Linked DNA regions of Homo sapiens: regions 1 and 2 are each linked to region 3. The links are contacts of gene promoters, found by promoter capture Hi-C in human tissues and cell types (Jung and others, 2019). All regions are on one chromosome and are shown on one strand. The core of a region is centred on a gene start or on the middle of the fragment in contact, and the rest is flanking DNA. Distances in the headings are between cores, read along the strand shown.

Region 1 (4,308 bases), core at 1,595-4,094, 45 kb after region 3:
CCTACCAAGTTAAATAATCATGCTTGGCCAATCCCAGAATGGACTGAGATTTCCATGATGCAGCTGTGCCTTGTTCAGGGTCCCTTGAAGAGATGCTCATTTTGAGTCACGTGACTGTAGGGAGGACTTGCCACTTATTCCTAAATGTCCCAGTTTAGCCAACACTTAGCTCAGCTCAGAAAATAACACCAAAATCAGCTCTGCCACTAACAAGAAAAAGACCATTTTTTAAATTTATTTATTTATTTATTTATTTATTTATTTATTTAGACAGAGTCTCACTCTATAGCCCAAGCTGGAGTGCAATGGTGTAATCTCGGCTTACTGCAACTCTGCCTCTGGGGCTCAAGCGATTCTCATGCCTCAGCCTCCCAAGTAGCTGGGACCACAGGTGCGTGCCACCACACCCAGCTAATTTTTTCATTTTAGTAGAGATGGGGTTTCACCATGTTGCCCAGGATGATCTCGAACTCCTGAACTCAGTGATCTGCCCACCTCGGCCTCCCAAAGTGCTGGGATTACATGCATGAGCCACCATGCCCAGCCAAAATAGGCCATTTCTATGGAGAAAGGAGAAAAATAGGCTTATGGAAAATTGAATTTGCATACTTGATGATAATTAACAACTTAAATTTAAAATTTAAAAAAAGCCCAAATATGTGGTGTATATGATATGTGCTGAGAGGGAATTTTAAAAAATTCTAATGTATTTCACATCTCAATTGCCTTTTGTCTAAGAATTAACATCCTGAACACTGACTAAAAAAGGTGAAAAATAATATTTTATTTTCTCATTTTAAATTTACTTCCTTTGTCAAATTACTCTCAATGAATAAGGAAACCCATCAAGAGCAACATGGTTCATCTTTATTTGGAATTTCAGAAAAGCTAATGTCCCAAATCATGTCTTCTGAGATTTTCAAAGGACTTTTGCTGTCTAGCTTCATCTTGTTTACTGATGTTAGAGCTGTGTTGAGATTAATATCAACAATCAGAAAGTAATATCATGGTTCTGGTTGTCATTATCCTGTTTAGACATGCTAGAACTAGATTGCTTGTGTTGAAGTGTAATGGACTGGAGAAAAGAGGCATTCAAAATCTTAATGGTGAGAGCTTCAACTATCCAGCCATCTGCCAGATGTCTCATTTCCTAAATTCAGAACATCTGATAAGTCCATGATTTGCCTCAATTAGTATTCTCAGCCCTGCCTGCACATTAGAATAGTCCCAGAATTTAAAATAAAAAATTGACAGGCAGGCTCCACCCCATACTAATTAAAGCAGACTCTCTCAGGGTGGGGCCTCAGACTTTTTTTCTTTTTAAGCTCCCCAAGTGATTTGAATGTGCAGCCAGGGTAAGAATCAGTAACCCAAATGATAATTTCATCTTTCAGAAGGGAGACGGAGAGGAAGTGAGGAGGAGGATTAACACCCTGCTTCTAATTCTGGCCAACAAGGAGGCCCTGAATGGAAAATCAGAAGTGACAGGAACCCTGGAAGAGGGCCACCTGGCCATCAGAAAATTCCAGAGGGATGTGGTCACTGCCAGACACACACTCTGTTAGTCTGAGCCTAAAAATATTTCAGGAAATTATAAAAGCTTGACTTTGACACCCCAGTCTGAGATTCCAAAAAGAAGCAGAGGAGATTCCTCAAAATAAAATTCTGATGCTACTATTGTAAATGGTCCAACGCAGGAAGGAAAAGAAGAAGAAGAAGAAAAGAAAAAGGAAGGAGGTAGCCAAAAAGATTTAGTGTCTTTGGGTAGGAAGCTGTCTGCTGAGATCAGATATATTTTTAAATGGTGTGTGTTAAATGCAAAAGCTGATCTAGAAAAACAAGCATGGAAAAAAAAATCTGTCAAGAATATGTGAGAAGAGTCAGAAAGTTTAAAAGGAGGTTAACATTCTAGATGATGAAAAGGGCTGTTTGAATCCAAAGCAAGAAAGCCTACGATACATGGCCAGCTGTGATGGCATTATGTCAGTGGTGAAGGATGCAAAATGGAACACTCTCAGACTCTTTGGTAAGAAAGAATTTAAGGTTAAAATCACCTAGGAGCAGATTCTAACTGTCATAAATAAGTTTAAACACTGGCCTGGAAATAACAAACCAAAATGTAAATAGAAGTTTCAGATGAAATTGCTTTAATCTTTAAAAAATATGGAGAATGAAAGAGATGCCTAAACACTGCCCAACATACTTTTTCAAGAGGAAAGAAGAGAAATTCTCTGAACTACAGACTCCAGGGCCTGCTGATTCTTCAGTTACATAATTCTAGGATTTACTTTAAAATGCAGTTTGAATGCAAGATTTGCTAAATTAAATCATGCCTTTGACATAGTTTATGAAGAGAGTAGAGAGACAGGGAATCATACAATTTTTTTTGTTGTTTTTGAGACAGAGTCTCATTCTGTTGCCCAGGCTGGAGTGCGGTGGCACAATCTCGGCTCACTGCAACCTCCACCTCCCAAGTTCAAGAGATGCTCATGCCTCAGCCTCGCGAGTAGCTGGGATTACAGGTGTGTGCCACCACACCTGGCTAATTTTTGTATTTTTAGTAGAGGCGGGGTTTCACCATGTTGAACAGGCTGGTCTCAAACTCACGACCTCAAGTGATCTGCCTGTCTCAGCCTCCAAAAGTGCTGGGATTGCAGGCATGAGCCACAGGGCCCAGCCACAATTTTTAACAATCTAATTCAACTTCAGTAGTAGTTCATAATCTTTGAGAATCAGATAAAAATCTATGTATCCTCTTGAAGTGGTTAGATAGTATGGTATAACAAACTATCGCAAAACTTAATGGCTTAAAACAACTACCATTAAATTGCTCGTAATTCTGCAATTTGTGCTGGGCCCAGCTGGTAGTTCTTCTGCTGGGTTTGTCTGGGATCACTCAGGCAGCCTCAGTCATCTAATGGCTTACATGAGGCTGAATGGCCCAGATAGCCTCAGTCATGTTTGGTACTTGTTGTTGGCTGTCAGCTGGGCCATGTGTTTCCAGCAAGACAGCTAGGTCTGATTTACTTGGTAGTGACTAATTCACTTGGTAGACAATGAAAGCAAAACTTGCAAGGCTTCTTGAGACCAAGGCTGAGAAGTCACATGACATCATTTTTGCCTCATTCCTTTTTAAAAAAAAAATTTATCCTATATATAATATATCATATATATTACATATAATGTAATATATAATATATATAATATATTATATATTACATTATATGTAATATATATGATATATTATATATTATATAATATATAATATATAATATATAATATATTATATAATATATAATATATAATATATAATATATTATATAATATATAATATATAATATATTATATATTATATATTATATTTATAATATATTATATATTATATTTATAATATTATATATAATATATATAATATTATATATAATATATAATATAATATATAATATCTAAAATATACATAATGTATATTATATATGTATATAATATATAATATATAAAATATACATAATATATATTATATATAATATATTGTACATATAATATATATTATATGTATAATATATAATATATAATATGTATTACATGTATATAATATATAATATGTATTATATGTATATAATATATAATATGTATTATATGCATATAATATATAATATGTATTATATGCATATAATATATAATATATATTATACATCATGTTATATATAATATATAATATATATTATATGCATATAATATATATTACATGCATATAATATATACTACATAAAATATACATAATGTATAATATATAAAATATACATAATATATAACATATAAAATATACATAATATATAATATATATTATATGTATATAATATATAATATATATTATATGTATATAATATATATTATATATTATATGTATATAATATATATTATATATCATATGTATATAATATATAATATATATTATATGTATATAATATATAATGTATAAAATATACATAATATATAATATATAATATATATTATATATTATATAATATGTTAAATATATTATGTATAAAATATATAATATATAAAATATACATTACATAGAAAATATATGATATATAAAATATATATTATATAGAAAATATATAATATATAAATATATATTATATATAATATAGAAAATATATATAATATATAATATAGAAAATATATTATATATTATATATAATGTAGAAAATATTCTATATTCTATATTATATATTATATATTGTATATTATATATTATATATTATATATGGTATATTATATATTATATCATGTATATTATATATT
Region 2 (4,413 bases), core at 446-2,945, 52 kb before region 3:
GTGAGCAACCGCGCCCAGCCAATTCGAGGAGTTTTTTAAAGGTGTGTTGAGTAGGTGGGATCCTGTGTTGCTAGGATAATACTTGTGCAGATCTCATTCTGATAGAACACCAGGTATCCAGAAATAAAAAGCGGGGAAGGGAATGGAAGGGAAAGGGAAAAGGAAAAGGAAAGGGAAAGAGAGAGGAAGGGAGGAAGGAAGGAAGGAAGGAAGGAAGGAAGGAAGGAAGGAAGGAAGGAAGGAAGGGAGGGAGGGAGGGAGGGAGGGAGGGAGGGAAGAAGGGAGGGAGGGAGGGAGGGAGGGAAACTAGGTATCCGGAAAGTCACAATTTTTTCTGGTGTATCTAGGAAACAGCCATGTGTAGGTGATTGGAAATCAGGGTTTTTTTGGACACTCACATCACAATTCTTTTTTTTTTTTTTTTGAGACGGAGTCTCGCTCTGCCGCCCAGGCTGGAGTGCAGTGGCGCGATTTTGGCTCACTGCAAGCTCCGCTTCTCGGGTTCACGTCATTCTCCTGCCTCAGCCTCCCGAGTAGCTGGGACTATAGGCGCCCGCCACCGCGCCCAGCTAATTTTCTGTAATTTTTTTTTTTAATTTTTTAAGATGGAGTCTCCCTCTTCGCCCAGGCTGGAGTGCAGTGGCGCAATCTCGGCTCACTGCAAGCTCCGCTTCCCGGGTTCACGCCATTCTCCTGCCTCAGCCTCCCGAGTTGCTGGGACTACAGGCGCCCGCCACCACACCCCGCTAATTTTTTGTATTTTTAGTAGAGACGGGGTTTCACCGTGTTAGCCAGGATGGTCTCCATCTCCTCACCTAGTGATCCGCCCACCTTGGCCTCCCAAAGTGCTGTGATTACAGGCATGAGCCACCGCGCCCGGCCTCACAATTCTTATTATCCTTTCTCCTTTAGAATTACAGAATCACAAAAACCCTAGAAGTCATCCGGAAGGGAAGAAGAGAATGCGAAAGAACAGAAGAGTATAATGTTCAACATGCAGGGAAAAAAATAACAATACATATTTCAGAAATAGGAGCAGCTTCAGTGCAGGCAGTATCATGGCAGCCACTCCACGGGAGGAACGGGATCCTCTGCCAACCTTGTCAGCCACTCCAACTAAGCAGCTGCTGCACCAGGTGTGTTGCTGCTGTCTTTCTAAGGGTTCAAGAACATGGGCTCTGGGGTCATATGGCCTGCGTTCACATTCCAGCTCCATTCATAGCCTGCATGACCTTTAGCACATGTCTTGGCTTCTCTGCCTCAATTTCCCCATCTGTAAAATAGAAATAAATATAACATCAATCTCATCAAATTGTTGAGAAGATTAAATTGCATAAAGCACAGAAAACATATCATAGTGAATGAGAGATAGTAAGTATCCAATAAATGTAGGCTAGTATTGCATTTCTTTTCATTTCTACAACAGCCCTATGAAGTAATGATCATCCTCTTCATTTACAGAAGAGGATACAGAGTTAAGGAGGCCATATCAGCCTCCTAGTTTCACTAAACTAGTTTGAATTCCATATAGTACCTGAGTCCCAGAAATATCTGGCTCCAAATTAATGCCCTTTCCCCCATACCACACTGTTTCTCCACACTCCCAGGGCACTCAATGAGAAAAATGCTGACTTAACTTAGTGCAAATGGTCAATCAATAGTATTTGGCTGAAGGCCAGGGCAGTGGTTCACTCCTGTAATCCCAGCACTTGGGTTAGTGGATCCCTTGAACCCAGAAGTTCAAGACCAGCCTAGGCAACATGGCGAAACCCTGTGTCTACAAAATTACAAAAAAAATTAGCCAGGCATAGTGGCACGTGCCTATAGTCCCAGCTACTCAGGAGGCTGAGGTGGGAGGATCACTTGAGCTCAGGAGGTAGAGGCTGCAGTAAGCCTGATCACACCACTGCATTCCAGCCTGGGCGACAGAGTGAGACCTTGTCTCAAAAAAACTTATTTTAATAGCATTTCAATGAACAGCTATCATTCTACATGTCTGAAAGACATGGGATATTCTGGGATACTCTTCCCAGAATATACAACTTAATACTAGATGGTAACATTCTTGGATTATGTACAGTCAATCTTAAGCATTCGATGACTCCTTTAAAGACACTTGTCTTTAAAATTTGTGTATAATCCCACTAAATTAGTAGTTCTTAAATTTTATTGAGTCTTGGACCCCTTGGTGAATCAGATCAAAGAAAAGAACACTTTCCCCAGGCAGAAAAAAATGCACATATACATACTCCCAAAATATGTATACAATTTCAGTGGGTTCAGAGACTTGAGAAGTTCATGCAATCCAGGTGAGCAATCCCCCATTCTAATGAGCCTGGAGATCTGGAATGCTGTTCCATTTACAAGGATGCCCTTTCTATATGGCTATTATCACCCTGCTTGGCCTCTGCTTTGTTTCTTTTTGATTTTTCTCTTCTTTCCTGTTCTCTTTCCTTTTACCTCTCTTACTATTCCTTTCTCAACTCTCCACCCACTCCTACCTTGGCAATCAGACAGCGCCACTATCGGAATCTCCTCTCCCTTCCCCTTCCTCCCCTCTGTATCCTTCCTGACCAGCTGATTCCGGAGAGGAATCCGATAACTTATCAATAGGCATAGGTTGCTCCATAGGAATTTTGGCCAGCCTGGGAAACAGTCTTTCTTTGAAGGATAGCAGATCAGAACTTCTGGCTCCATTAAGAAGTCATTTCTCCTAATTCTCCAGTAAATACAACCACTTTCCATTAAATATATGCAGATTCACTATATCCTGTTTTCAAGGAAACATTCGCTAAGTTAACAATTCTGGTATAGATATCTGTGAACTCATTTGTTCTTTTATATCTGTGACTTTTTTTCTGGTACCCATCAGCTTAGTAGTTAAGTACTCAGAAAAACATATATTGGACACATAAAGCCTCATATAAGCAACCTGTGCATTAAAATGTGTCTGTCTCCATTAGGTTTCTTGTTTGCCTACAATGTGCAAGTGAATTGCATTTATATCTGTTTTTTTAAATAAGCTTTTAAAAACTCATGCAATCATTTGGAATCCTTGGCCAACTATAATATATATATATATATATATATAACTGCCTAGAGTTGCCTAATATGAAAATGTGGTTAAGCAATTGTAAGAATGAAAAGCTTCAAACTGAAATGAAATGTAAAATCATAAACTACAATATTGAAATGAAATCTTGTTTAAAAGATTTGTCTTAGAGTTTGACTTTGGATGCATTTTGTACCTCTAGAATATTCCATCATCAAGAAATCTGAAAAGTCAGTATTTTCATTTCCTAGCAAATCAAAATGTTTCGTCTAAGCCCAATAATTTTCTTGAAGGATGCTTTCCAAGAGAATTGTCCTCTGTATTTTTCATATGAAAGTTTCTGCAAAAACCAACTATGTTTTTAATAAGGTAAATTCACAACCATAAATGTGCCTTAGATTATTATGGGACATTTTGTAAACTGCCAGGCATATGAAATTAAAGGAGAGAGACAAATGCTTTATATATGAGCATTACATATTTACTTCACAGTTTTTAAACTATTTCATAGTAACTTCATCAGCATTTCCACTTACTATAATGATCATTTAAGATTTTGTTATGGTGAAGCCATTCACTGAATTGAAACACTATTTTTGTAATTTGGAAAGAAAAACTGTATAAAATGAATAGCATTGGCAAATGTTTCTAATCATTTCCTTAAAATACTAAACCACCAATCTTTTTATTTACTGCATTTTGCTTAAGTGCATAAATCAAAGGACAATAACAAGCCTAATGTCAAAGAAACTTTTTGACACTTCATACATTTGAGCAAGCTTAGCCGATAAACAGTTTAGATGAAGTTATGGTTTGAAATATGTTTCCCAAGAGGACTGTGGTTCATAAATTGCTATCAGGCTACCTCTGTCATTATTGATTTGAGAGGTACTCAAGGTACCCCCAGCTATTAACTAAGGCTAGCATTACCTGACCTGCTTTTCAGAGAATGATATTTGGTTTTACAAAGACAAGTAACCATCCATCCTATAAGAAACATGTAGTTTGCTTGTCATCGGGCACAAAATATATTGCATTCTATTTGAAATGTTGACCAACAATTAAAAGACGAGGCAACATAATCTTAAACAGGCTTCCAACCATCTTCATAATCCTAAAAGGAATTAAATCAGTTCCTTTTGTATAACAGCTGTACTGGGAAAAGCTAGAAGAATGAGAGCATTTTTTTTAAAAAATGCATCAAACAATAGAAATTTGCATCTCAGCATTTTGCAATTATATGATTATTTATTACACCTGTGCTCTTAAATATTCTTTGCAGATATGTGTTTTTGATAAGCTTATTAAAAATACACCCACAGGCAAATCAAATATTAGTCCCATAATGTGTGTATGTTTAT
Region 3 (4,028 bases), core at 683-3,182:
TGTGCTAAAAAATTGCAGACCCACGCAAGTTGGGGGTTTAGAGCAGTAGGTCACTATTTTGTTCCGAGCTCAACTGCAAGCCCCTGGCGCTTACCAACGAGCCTAGTTTCAGTTAATCCCTATTCTAGGTTCAATGCTTTAAGACGCTTGTCTGGGGACGTTCAAGGATGTTAACCCCTTTCCTAGAAAAAGAATGGGCCCTGCACCGACTCTAATCCTGGGCTTTTAAGTCCCTGTCTCCTACCGCCCAGCCGCGGCAAACCTGAAATATATATATTTCTCAATCCTGCTGCCCAAGACTCTAGGGCTAGTGGAGGGCAGAGCCCGAGCACAGAGTCAACTGCAACACCGAAGTTGGGCGCCCTCCATTCGCACTGACCTCGCCTTCCTGCCCCAACCACTTTGTCGGCGGTGAGCAAGGAAAGGACTGTCCTTGTGGAGTCCTTCGGGTGGGGATCGCTTTGTGGCCTGCGGCCGGACTCTGCCCGCCTCCAAAGGGCGATGCTCAAGGTGGAGTCTTTGGTCTCCCTTGGGCTAACCTGGCCTGACCAGCGGCGAGCCCCAGGCCGCCCTGTCCCGCGCTGGCGCCGCAGGCCCTCGCCTCCCTCTAATTTACAGCCCGCGGGCTCCTGTTGACACCGTTTTCCACACCGAACTCCTTCGGGTGGAATCTGCATATACACATCAGCCTCCCCTCTCGGCTTGGGGCCAAGCCTGGGGTGATTTCAGCTCCTGCCATTTACCACCCGCCCTCGCCGCACGTGAGCCTTCTCAAGAAGCTCATGCCACACGGGCGCTGCGGCCCGGGTGCCCCGCGGCCCGGTGACTTACAAGTGGAGATCCATTTTCCGTTATAATGCGTTCAAGATCACCAAGGCCAGCAGTCTCAACATCCACGAGCCGTCCTCCCGGCCTGCCTCTTAAACTGGCGTTTAATGGTTCCCCTCCGATAACTAAACCTGCTTTCCACAGATGCCCGCTTTTATGAGGGAGGCAGGAATGCAGAGATATATTTATATGTTTGTTCATAAAAACTGGAAAATAAGCTCTGAACACGCCGTAAAAAATATTCAGTTACTTACCAAACAGGCTAGTTAAACCAGGGGAACACCGATACCAGCCACACTACAGATTCGGGGAATCGAGGTGCCCGCACTTCAAAATCGCCCAAGGTCTTCGTAGGGACTGGTGTCCCTGAAGGATGTGGAAATAACAGCATTTACAATCGGCTTGACATGTTCGCCCGGAGGACTCAGCCGTCATCTCCAAAGTTTGCCGCAATAACGTGAGCCACCCCAAACAGCTCTAACCGGGGTAACTTGGTGGGTAACTCAATAGCCACTGAGACCGGCGTTTCGAGCCTGTAAACGGGTCAAAGAAACACCCTTCTCCAGCCGCTCCTCGTCCCTGCTGGGGCAAAGAGCGCCAGCTCCCAGCCGCGCCTTTGTGGGGGCCCCCACCGCCCGTCACGAGGCTCCCGGCGCCCCTGCATAAAATTGTAAGAGGCTGCCTGCGTATATTTTCTTACCTCGATTACCTACAAAGCACTTCGAAAAGCAATACCTGCGTTTTCTTTCTTTCTTTCTTTTCAACCAGAAAAGAGAGCAGAGTGATACTGTACCTGGTTAGAGATTCTTCAATATTTGAGACTTGGGGGGAAAATATTTTAATAGTGAAGCATCTGTTAAACACTTGCATTATCCTCTGACTGATAAAAAAAGTTTTTTTAACCCTGCCCCCCCCCCCCGCCAAGTTTTAATTATCTTATGGTTATGAGGAGGTAGCCAATCCTGGAAGAGGACCTCGGCAATTAGCAACGTGAACATCAAAAAGTTTTATTGCCGAGAGCTCGAGGCGCCGCCCCTGCCGCCCCGGGATTGGCGTGAGGAGCCTCTGACGACATATATTAACCCGAGCGGCCCTAAAGATGTAGCTGTACATGGAGATCTTGCTGGGAAAATCCGCTTGCTCCCCTCACGTCGTCCAGCCCAGGAGAACCACCGCCGTCACCCCGGAGCTTCCTCGGCCACCGCGCAGAGCCCTCCGAGAGCCCGAGCCGCGGTCTTCGAGCTCCAAGGCTCATTCAGGGCCCCAGATCCTTGCCCCGAAAGGAGAGGATCTGAGAAAATGGATGCACTGAGACCTCTCTGAAAACCCTCCGAGAGAGCGCGAGAGGAGCGAGGACACGTTACTCGCAGCTAAAATCACATTTAAGGACCAAAACAACAACAACCAAAAATTTCATTAAAACAATAAGCGCCCAAGAACCCAGATCGGGCTGGTGGGGGGAGGGGAAGAGGCGGGAAGGGGAGGGTCGCACGGAGGTAGCTTTGCAGTGAGCAGTCGACCCCGCCGCCCCCCGGCACAGCTGGACCGGCTCCTCCAGCCGCGGCTCAGACTCGCCCCTGGATTCCGGGTTAGCTTCGGTGCCAGGACCGCGGCCCGGGCTTGGATTCCCGAGACTCCGCGTACCAGCCTCGCGGGAGCCCCGGCACCTTTGTATGAGCACGAGAGGATTCTGCCTCCGCGCAGCAGCCCGGGAAGCAGGAGCCGAAGCGCGGGCCGTGGAGCAAGGCGGGAACCGGAGGCGGCGGCGGCGGCGGCCAGGGGCGCACGGTGCCAGGACCAGCTCGCCGCGCCCCATGGGGAGCCGGCGGCCGCAGCGCTGCTGAGGCGGGCCCGGCTGGCCAGGCGGGGGGACGGGGCCCGGGCTGCAGCAGCCCCCTCTGCGGCTGCCGGGCGGGCCCGGGCGCCCGGGGGCTGGGGGGTGGGGGGTGGGGGAGGACGCCGAGCGCTGAGGCAGGGGCCCGGGCCGAGGGCGCGGCGGGGCTGCGCGCACGCTGGGGCGCGTGGAGGGGCGCGGAGGGCGAAATGAGTCTGGTAGGTGGTTTTCCCCACCACCCGGTGGTGCACCACGAGGGCTACCCGTTTGCCGCCGCCGCCGCCGCAGCTGCCGCCGCCGCCGCCAGCCGCTGCAGCCATGAGGAGAACCCCTACTTCCATGGCTGGCTCATCGGCCACCCCGAGATGTCGCCCCCCGACTACAGCATGGCCCTGTCCTACAGCCCCGAGTATGCCAGCGGCGCCGCCGGCCTGGACCACTCCCATTACGGGGGGGTGCCGCCGGGCGCCGGGCCCCCGGGCCTGGGGGGGCCGCGCCCGGTGAAGCGCCGAGGCACCGCCAACCGCAAGGAGCGGCGCAGGACTCAGAGCATCAACAGCGCCTTCGCCGAACTGCGCGAGTGCATCCCCAACGTACCCGCCGACACCAAACTCTCCAAAATCAAGACCCTGCGCCTGGCCACCAGCTACATCGCCTACCTCATGGACCTGCTGGCCAAGGACGACCAGAATGGCGAGGCGGAGGCCTTCAAGGCAGAGATCAAGAAGACCGACGTGAAAGAGGAGAAGAGGAAGAAGGAGCTGGTCAGTACCAGGGGGCGGCAGGCGGTGGGGCTGAGGGGGTCAGGGAACTGGTGCTCCCGGCCTCTTTCCAATTGGGCTGAGAAATGGCATCTCGTGTTCTTTGGCTGCGTCCCGCTTCAAGGTTGTTTGCACCAGGTTGTGTAAGGATGGCTTCCGGCATAAGCAGAGAGTTGAGGGGAGGGTGTCAGCAGGAGGAGGAGAAGGTTAGGGATGCTTTGCGCTGGTGATCTTACCTCCGGGTTATCGCTGCTCCCCTAGTACTTAGGACGGACCTTGAAAACTCTGGGTCGCGATCGATCGCGATCGCACTGGTCTGGATGCCTCACCCCGTCTCTGTTAGACCCTTCTTTTGGCCTCCAATCCAATCTTGCTTTCAGATGTTTCCAGAATAAGTCTCGAAGAAGCCCTTGATTCCAATTATTTCACTATTGATCGCACCCCCTACCCCACTCCCAGAAGGAGGCTGCCAGAGACTGAGCCCTGAGTTTTGTGGTTGTTCTCATACTATGCCCGGAAAACGTAATGGTAAACATAAAATAAGTACTTTTGACTTCAAAATACAGCTCCAATTTTTCCTTGGCTATGACGTTAAAATGTAATTT

Evidence for each region. Contacts are between HindIII fragments. The study calls those that stand out against the background at their distance.
Region 1: a fragment that was not itself captured here is called in contact with the fragment with the promoter of HAND2 in region 3 in 2 of the 25 tissues and cell types used here (H1 embryonic stem cells and spleen).
Region 2: a fragment that was not itself captured here is called in contact with the fragment with the promoter of HAND2 in region 3 in 3 of the 25 tissues and cell types used here (H1 embryonic stem cells, dorsolateral prefrontal cortex and spleen).

What each region holds. Positions count from the first base shown.
Region 1 is chr4:173,484,059-173,488,366 of GRCh38, reverse strand. It overlaps a transcript of SCRG1 not described here. Among named protein-coding and RNA genes, the nearest start is that of HAND2, 44 kb to the left of the region's middle. The HindIII fragment of the contact is 4,911 bases long and covers 389-4,308 here.
Region 2 is chr4:173,579,565-173,583,977 of GRCh38, reverse strand. It overlaps HAND2-AS1 (HAND2 antisense RNA 1), which reads right to left. Exons shown (of 5, transcript NR_136196.1): 4 at 1,100-1,273. Among named protein-coding and RNA genes, the nearest start is that of HAND2-AS1, 51 kb to the right of the region's middle. The HindIII fragment of the contact is 4,794 bases long and covers 1-4,092 here.
Region 3 is chr4:173,528,133-173,532,160 of GRCh38, reverse strand. HAND2 (heart and neural crest derivatives expressed 2) reads left to right here and starts at 1,932. Exons shown (of 2, transcript NM_021973.3): 1 at 1,932-3,426. The coding sequence starts at 2,872. HAND2-AS1 (HAND2 antisense RNA 1) reads right to left here and starts at 1,790. Exons shown (of 5, transcript NR_136196.1): 1 at 1,622-1,790; 2 at 1,083-1,194. The HindIII fragment of the contact is 12,639 bases long and covers 1-4,028 here.